Linked DNA regions of Homo sapiens: regions 2 and 3 are each linked to region 1. Evidence: promoter capture Hi-C in 16 types of primary human blood cells and fetal thymus (Javierre and others, 2016). All regions are on one chromosome and are shown on one strand. The core of a region is centred on a gene start or on the middle of the fragment in contact, and the rest is flanking DNA. Distances in the headings are between cores, read along the strand shown.

The links. The method cuts DNA at HindIII sites, captures the fragments that hold promoters and counts their contacts. A CHiCAGO score of 5 or more calls a contact.
Region 2: a contact is called between a fragment that was not itself captured here and the fragment with the promoter of STX17 in region 1, in 1 of 17 cell types (erythroblasts). The highest score is 5.5, in erythroblasts.
Region 3: a fragment that was not itself captured here is called in contact with the fragment with the promoter of STX17 in region 1 in 1 of 17 cell types (fetal thymus); the score reaches 5.5 in fetal thymus.

Annotation. Positions count from the first base shown.
Region 1 is chr9:99,905,284-99,907,983 of GRCh38, forward strand. It overlaps STX17 (syntaxin 17), which reads left to right and starts at 1,371. Exons shown (of 8, transcript NM_017919.3): 1 at 1,371-1,423. It overlaps STX17-DT (STX17 divergent transcript), which reads right to left and starts at 1,318. Exons shown (of 3, transcript NR_038853.1): 1 at 1,271-1,318. RefSeq lists a silencer at 1,110-1,509 and an enhancer at 1,670-1,909. The HindIII fragment of the contact is 1,410 bases long and covers 202-1,611 here.
Region 2 is chr9:100,209,096-100,211,795 of GRCh38, forward strand. The region is part of intron 3 of INVS (inversin); the gene reads left to right. Among named protein-coding and RNA genes, the nearest start is that of INVS, 110 kb to the left of the region's middle. RefSeq lists an enhancer at 945-994. The HindIII fragment of the contact is 631 bases long and covers 980-1,610 here.
Region 3 is chr9:100,341,791-100,344,490 of GRCh38, forward strand. All of the region lies in intron 4 of TEX10 (testis expressed 10), which reads right to left. Among named protein-coding and RNA genes, the nearest start is that of TEX10, 9.8 kb to the right of the region's middle. The HindIII fragment of the contact is 971 bases long and covers 815-1,785 here.

The sequences.
Region 1 (2,700 bases), core at 121-2,620:
GCAGTGAGCTGAGATCATGCCACTGCACTCCAGCCTGGGCGAAAGAGCAAGACTCTGTCTAAAAAAAAAAAAAAAAAAAAAATGTTTATCCTACTACTTTGACACACCTAACTTACAGCAAACATACATATAACAACTTAGAAGTCCAGGTCCAAATTTAGAATCTTTGAGTACCACACCTCCTGATTTTGTACCTGAGGAAGCTTTTTCAGAACTTAACACAAATGATCTTTTATTTCAAAAGATCTTATTTCACTGATCCTTGCATAAAAAACATTTTCTCACAGTATTGCCTAATACTTTAATTTTTCTCCTTAGAATCAAAATTTGATAAATACATTCTGGAGCTCATTGTAAAACAAATATCAGTATACATTATGTCCCCAAAGAAAATCCAAATTGCTTGGTAGATTTGGTGCTTTGTTTTAGAAATTGTCTTTCAAGGCTTTTTAAAGGATCTACAGGCCCCTAATCTTCCCTGTTTACCTCCTACTCTACTGGAAGACCCTAAGAACTCAGTTTCCTTAACTGTGGTTTGAACATCCTGATCACTTCTGAGACAATGCCATTAGTGAATACATTCTAAGCACGTCATCTGAATATTCACAGACATCTTTTTAAAAGGGCTGGATCTGGAAGTTAGGCCATGAAGAGAGGAGGACCTGTGACTTGGACAAGGCTTCAAAGCCGGCCACCTGCTTGTTCATGTGGTTGCAGCTGGTCTAACTGGAATAACTTGGGAAGGAAATTAGGACACCCAGTTGGAGTTCCAGCTCTGCCATAAGCTGGCTGAACTGGAGTGAGTCACTTAAAACTCTTTGTTAAACCCCAGAGTCATAATCTATAAAATCGGGATAAAGACGTTTGCCTTAAGCCCTCCACCAGTTTTTGGAGGAAACCACAATTTGCTGAGCTTTAATTTTTACACCTGTTGCAATTAAGATGGCACTCCTGCCCTGTCCACTTCACAGGGCTTTTGGGGACGGGATGGGGAGGCACCACCTTTCTGAGCTTCAGTTTCAAAACAGAGCTAAGAATACATGCCCAACCCGCAAATAAAATTCTAGGAAGAACAGAGGAAAACGGACAGGAAAACTGCGAAATGCAGTCGGCCATACAAGCATGAATTGTCTTAAACACAACAAGCAGACCTAAAGAGCGTTTGTGCGTCTCTCTCCTCTTGGCTCGAGTCACAACCCCATAACGTAAATCAATATCACTTTTGAAAAAGGCTTTCGCTGTTCTCAGCAGCGTCCGCATTTGTACTCACCTGTGCGCCCCCAGCGCCCGGCCTGGGGGCCCTGCGGGGCGGGGGCGGGGGCGGGGGCGGGGCCCAACCCTGCCCACCCCTCGTGATGCCCCGCCCCGTCGCTCCTGCGCCTGCGCCGTGCCCACCGACCGGCCTCGAGCGCCCCGGCGGGAGGTAAGGGGCTCTCTGGAGGCCGCCTTTGGGGGCGTCGGGCCCTCACAGGCTTGGTGGGCCTGGCGCCCGTGTGGCGCGCGCAAGAGGCGCTGGGCGGCAAGTAGGGCATTGGATCCGAAGTGCGAGCGCCATGGTGGCTCCTCCTGTTTTTCAGAAGTGGCGGAGCCTCGCTTGGTTTCGTTTTTGGAAGCTTTATTGGAAGCTGGTATAGGGAGGCCGCAGACGATGCGAGCAGGACGGCCTCCCGGGGTCGCGGGGTGGAAAAGTTTCCGGCGCGCGTCCTGTCTCTGGCGCGCTGTAGGCCCCGGGTCGCCAGGGTCGCTGGCGTCTGGGTCCCGGGACAGACCCGCGCATCCGTTCGCTGGTGGGGGCGTTTGGTGTGTGTGGCCCAGGTGTGCTGTGGGTGACACTGCGAGGAATGACGCGACGCTCGATGGTAGTGAGGCTCGGAGGACTGGGAGCGAGAGGCCGGAAGCCCCTGCTCGCCAAACCCAGAGGTGGTTGGCAGAAGGTCCCACACCTTGGCTCCCTCCTTTTAGCTAACCGAGGTTCAGAGAGGAGACTTTACTTTGACTTTTCTCTCCAAATTCGGTATCTCTTCCATAAGTCAGAAACATTAAGCGGCGGGCCGGAAGAAATCGGGCGCCACTAGTATCCTGAAAAGTGGGAGCTCTGGGCCGATGGAAGGTGTTCGTCACTTTTGGGGGCTGGGTTTCCTGAGAAATGGGGTCTTTCACTTATTAATAACCTCCTAAGTAACTTACTGGGAAACATGAGTATTATGGTACCCATCTCATATTAGTTGTAAGCACTACATGATAAAGTTTGTAAAGCACCTGGCACAGTCCTGGCACCCCTCTCTCCAAGTATTAATGCAGTGAATACGATGGCAGTTCTTTGACTTCTAAATGTTTTTACCTGTCTTACGTGAAACATCCTCTTATACTAAAAAACTTTTTTATTTTGAAATAATTTTAAAATTACAGAAAAGTTTCAAAAGTAATACAGAGTTCCCTATTGCCTCCATTAATAATTTTTTACATACCATAGCGCAATTATCAAAAGCAAGAAGTTAATATTAGTATAATACTATTAACTGAATTACTAACTTGTGATTTTTTTTCCTGTATTAATGTCCTTTTTCTATTCTAGGATCCACTCTAAGACCCGACATTGCAGTTAGTTGTCTTGGGTCCTTGGTCTCCTCCAGTCTGTGACAGTTCCTCTGTCTTTTCCTGTCTTTACACTGATAGTCTTTTTCTGTCTTTATACTCTTT
Region 2 (2,700 bases), core at 45-2,544, 300 kb after region 1:
AGCATTTTTGGATCCCCTAAAGCGAACATCAATATGCTAGGAAAATGAATTACTTGTGCAGTATTGGGAAAAAGGAAATGGATGTAAAAACTGTTACCCTGTGGTTAAGGAAAATAAAAATTATTAGAAATTAAGTCATTGTTGAGTCAGTTAGAATAAAAAACATTTAGTTTTGAAGTAGCTATAGGGAGCAGGTCTTCTGCCTTTTAGAATTAGAATCATAGAGTCAAAGGACATTAAGCTGGGTGGGCTTTAGATCAGAATCCACCCTCCTTATTTTTCATGTGGGAGGAAACAGAGGCTAGGAAAAATTCAGTGATTTGCCTTTGGGTGTGGGAGTGTTCTGGCTGAGACCTCTCTCATGTCCCTCCCTTACTTAAATCCTTCAGTACTGGCCGGGTGCAGTGGCTCATGCCTGTAATCCCAGCACTTTGGGAGGCCAAGGCGGGAGGATCACAAGGTCAGGAGATCGAGACCATCCTGGCTAACACAGTGAAACCCTGTCTCTACTAAAAATACAAAAAATTAGCCGGGCGTGGTGGTGGGCGCCTGTAGTCCCAGCTACTCAGGAGGCTGAGGCAGAAGAATGGCATGAACCTGGAAGGCAGAGCTTGCAGTGAGCCGAGATCGCGCCACTGCACTCCAGCCTGGGCAACAGAACGAGACTCCGTCTCAAAAAAAAAAAAAAAAAAAAAAAAAATCCTTCAGTACTGCTTCAGAAGACTGAAAGGAAAAGCCCAAACTCCTTGACCCTGCACTTTTCGTCATCGAGTTCTTGCTTATCTTTTGGGCTTCAGTGTCCTGTGTCTCCAGTTCTACTCTATCCTCAGACATACTGTGTTTTTAAAGCTTTCATTCTAGTCACCTCTTTTTCATCCTCCACACACAATGCCGTCGCACATTCAGCTTCCTTCCTACTTTAAGCTGGCTTAATTGCATATACTTTCAACATGCAGCTCAGGCACTGTTTTCTCCAATAAGCTTCTACTGACCCCTCAAGGCTGGGTTAGGTGCCCCTCTACAGAGTTCTTACTACCGTGTGTCCTTACCTCTATCATAGAACTGATCTCATTGTATGACAGCAGTGAATAGCATTGCATATGGTTTCACTTTCTATTACGGTCAAAGGGAGGGATAGTGTGGGGGTTATTGGAGCATGTAATAAGTGGATCCAAGAGACATGATATACACAACTTACTAATGTTGGCTTCAGAATATGCATATAGGAGGAGCTTATGGGGACAAATTGATTGGAAGGAGTGGGAGTAAGATTTGAAGCTGTCTTTATATAGCACTTTACATAAAATTCAGAAAATACTTATTGCCCTCCATATCAAAGAAATTGGGAGCAGGAACAAGATGGAGACATTGAGGAGTGTCAAAGTGTTAGTAATCCTAAGTTAAGATCCTGTTCAACTGCCATCTCTTTCATGAAGTCATTCTGTTCTAACCCCTTCCCCTCTTCACAAGGACATCTTGGGGAAGTCACAAGGAATGACTTTTAAGTACATCATCTATCCTGTCTTTGTGTTCTGTTTTTGTATCCTTTTTGTGCATTTACCCTTCCTTGCTTATAATTTTGCATTGCATACAAGCGTACATCTGTATAAAGCTTCCCCAACTCTTAGCATGGAGTCTGATACAGAGTAATTACATCAAAAATAACCATTGAATGTTGAATGAATGGTTTAATTAGGTCAGTGCTTCTCAATCCCGGTTGCATTTTTGAATCACCTACCGAAAATTTAAGAAATATTAATTCCAAAGTCCCAGAAATTCTGATTTTGTTGATCTAGGATGGGAACAGACTTTTTTTTTAAGCTCCTAAGGATTGAGAACTCCTAGATTAGGTTCTTTGTTTCAACAGTGGTTCTCAAAGTTTAGGATTCTAGACCAGCAGCAGCAGCACTTCCCAGAAACTTGCTACAAAATGCAGATTCTTGGCCCCTACACCAGTGAATGACAAACTCTGCGGGAGGGCCTATGTGTTTTCAAGCCCTCCAGACGATCTTGATGCATGCTAGAGTTTGAGAACTTCTTTTGCTAGAGTTTAAGACAAAAAAAAAATGTTGTCCTTAAATAAAATACCAACTGTGAGAAACCAAATATACTTTATAATCATCCTAAAAGGTTGTACCAATTTAAAGCACCACTCTAAATAAATCAGAGTACCTCACAAGCACAACAGAATTATCCTTGTGGAAATAAGCATCCCAGCATTTTATAACTTTTTTCAATATTTATTTTTGGTTAGTTTCCTATATATAAAAGGCTCTCCAATGAAGGCATTAATTTTCATAATAATCTAAATAAAATAGGCTATATTAGTCAGGAAGAGCACCTGAAAAATCTGGCATTGGATAAGGAAGCCTCAGAGTCAAGAATACCTTTCCATAATTTCCTCTCATAGAGAAAAGCCTTTTTTTGACAGTAACATTTTCTCCTTCTCTCATTTGTGCTGTTTGACTCCGTGCCACTTGATAGCTCTGTCTATTCCTATGGAAACCAAGTTAGTGGATGGAGCCAAGGCTTGGAGAAGGCATTGGGGGGAAATATTAGAAGAGTTCAGCCTTAGAGCAACTAAAGATGTTGCCTTTCCCTCAGTCAAATCCTCTTTGAGAGCCAGAACTATTTCAAGCCAGAGAGATGTTCTTGGCTGATGTATTGTCTAGCTGCTCTGCCAGATGGATGAACATCTTA
Region 3 (2,700 bases), core at 50-2,549, 440 kb after region 1:
GGACAGGACTGGTCATCCAAGAGATGATGGTTGCTAGAGTTAGACTGTGAGCACCTGGGAGTTCACTAGTGTTCTATTTTTATAAATTCAGCACATTAAAGTTAAATAAATATAATGCAGATCATGCCACTCCTCTGCTCAAAACCCTCCAGTGGTCTTTTCGCCACACTCAGGTTAAAATCCAAACTCCTTACCAGGGACCACAGAGTCCCACATGATCTGGCCACTATCACTCTTCTTCGCCCCCATCTTCTACCATTCTCCCAGTACCTCATTTGCACAGGCCTTCCTGCCATTCTTCAAATATGCGAAGCCTGTTCTCACCTCAAAGCCATTGTACTTGCTGTTTCCTATGCCTGAATGTTCTTCCCACAGATGTTGACAAGACTTGCTCCTTCACTTCAATGACATTCAGATATCTTATTCTCAGAGAGCATTTGACAACCTATCTAAAATAGCTCCCCCTCACTGTTCCTGCCCATGCTCTTTATACCCCATTTTACTTTCATCTTTCTTCCTAGTACTGACATTATATATTTGTTTACTGTCTATAGATCCCACCAGAAGGTACATACCATGAGGGCAAGCACCTTATCAACCATGTTTATCTCTGTAGCCCCAGAGTCTAGAATAGTACTATTCAAAAGACCTTTCTGTAATGATCAAACTGTTCTATATCTATCTGCACTGTCCAATATAGTAACCACTACCCACATGTAGCTGTTGAGCACTTGAAATGTGGCTAGGGTTACTGAGGAATTGAATTTTAAATTTTAATTAATTTAAGTAGCCATTATTTATTGATGCCCAATAAAGCTTTGAATAAATGCCTTATAAAGTATGACTGCATTAGTGTTTGGTTACAAACTCTAACCCTCACAGCAAAAGGATAAAAGCAATGAGACACACACGTAGAGAAAAAGTAGCAAGCAAGTCAAGCATTAAATGCAAAGCTAAGACACAATTTTTATAACATAATACTGACCCTGACACTACTAATACAGTACCCTAAAAACCACAGTAAATCAAAAAGCTAATGTTAAACTGTAATTTCATTTTAAAAACTAGCTATATCGGCCGGGCGCGTTGGCTCATGCCTGTAATCCCAGCACTTTGGGAGGCTGAGACAGGTAGATCACGAGGTCAGGAGATCGAGACCATCCTGGCTGACACGGTGAAACTCCGTCTCTACTAAAAATACAAAAAAAATTAGCTGGGCATAGTGGCAGGCGCCTGTAGTCCCAGATACTTGGGAGGCTGAGGCAGGAGAATGGCGTGAACTCGGGAGGTGAGCCAGGATCGCGCCACTGCACTCCAGCCTGGGCGACTGAGTGAGACTCCGTCTCCAAAAAAAAATAAATAAAAATAAATAAAAACTAGTTATATCAAGGATATAGCTAGCTAACTATTAAGAATACATACAGTAGTAGTTCAACATGTGCACAAAATGTTAGAAATTGCTGCAACTAGATGGGGGTAGGCAAGTGCTTATTGTATTCCTTCTGAAGGTTTGACTTTAAAATAAAAAAGATAGGTAAGGGAATGCAAAAAAAAAAAAGAAAGAAAGAAAAGAAAAATAGTGCCAAGGTAATCAAATGTAAAACAACAATCTTTTCAACAAATAGTGCTGGAATAAATGGCTGTTTATATGAACAGGAAAAAAAAAAGATACACACAGTATTTCAGAAATAAACAACTTCAGTTGATTATTACAGAATCTGACTATTCAGCCACTGCATGTAAGACTTAATGTACCCTGAGACTTCTTTTCAAAGTAAGGATCAAAGCTTCAAATTACTAAAAAGTTTAAAAAAAAAAAAAAACTACCTGAATACAAGTGAAATTTCTTGACTTTTTGTAAATACTAGCAAACTAAATGCATTAAGCTGCAGCACCAACATGTAAAAGCAAACAGTCAGTAGTCCTAAGACTATATCTAACCGAGACATCAATTTACCAATAGAAAAATCTATACAGTTTCTGAGAGAAAAAGAGTTACAATTCAGCTTGTGGTGTGTGATCTGACATCAATGCCAAGCAATGCTATTTGGTTCCTCCTAAAGATTAGGCTGTGGCCAGGCAAAGAGGCTCATGCCTGTAATCTCAACACTTTGGGAGGCCAAGGTGCAAGGATATTTAAGGCCAGAAGTTCAAGACCAGAATGTGCATTTTAATGTCATTTTGTATAGAATGCTACTAACAATCTATCATTTTGTATAGATTGTACCAATGATGTACATTTTTATACTCTGTCTCTAAGATAATGGTTCCTTTTTAAAAAATAAATAAATAAATAATGGTTCTTATCAAGTTATTACAAATCTGCCAAGGTGAATTAGAGCATTCTACCAGTGGATGTTTTTAAATATTATTCCTATCTGAATTTATTTATTTCAGCTTTATACAGTATCTCAATTTGTATTCTGATCTTCAACAGTCTACGCAGTCTTTTAAACTTACCATTATATGTTAATGAGCTGCTAATAAGCCTAGTCATGTTATAATAGCACAAAATAGTTCTAAAGCATACTATTTTAAATATCCATAAAACTAAAGCAGTATTTAGATCCTTTGTTAGTGTTATCCAGATAAGATGACCCAAAACTAGCATAATTAATAAATTTTCAGATTTTGAATTTTGGTCCTACTAGTCTATCTAAATACAAATGCTACTAACAAAGCAGTAACAAAAGTTTACTA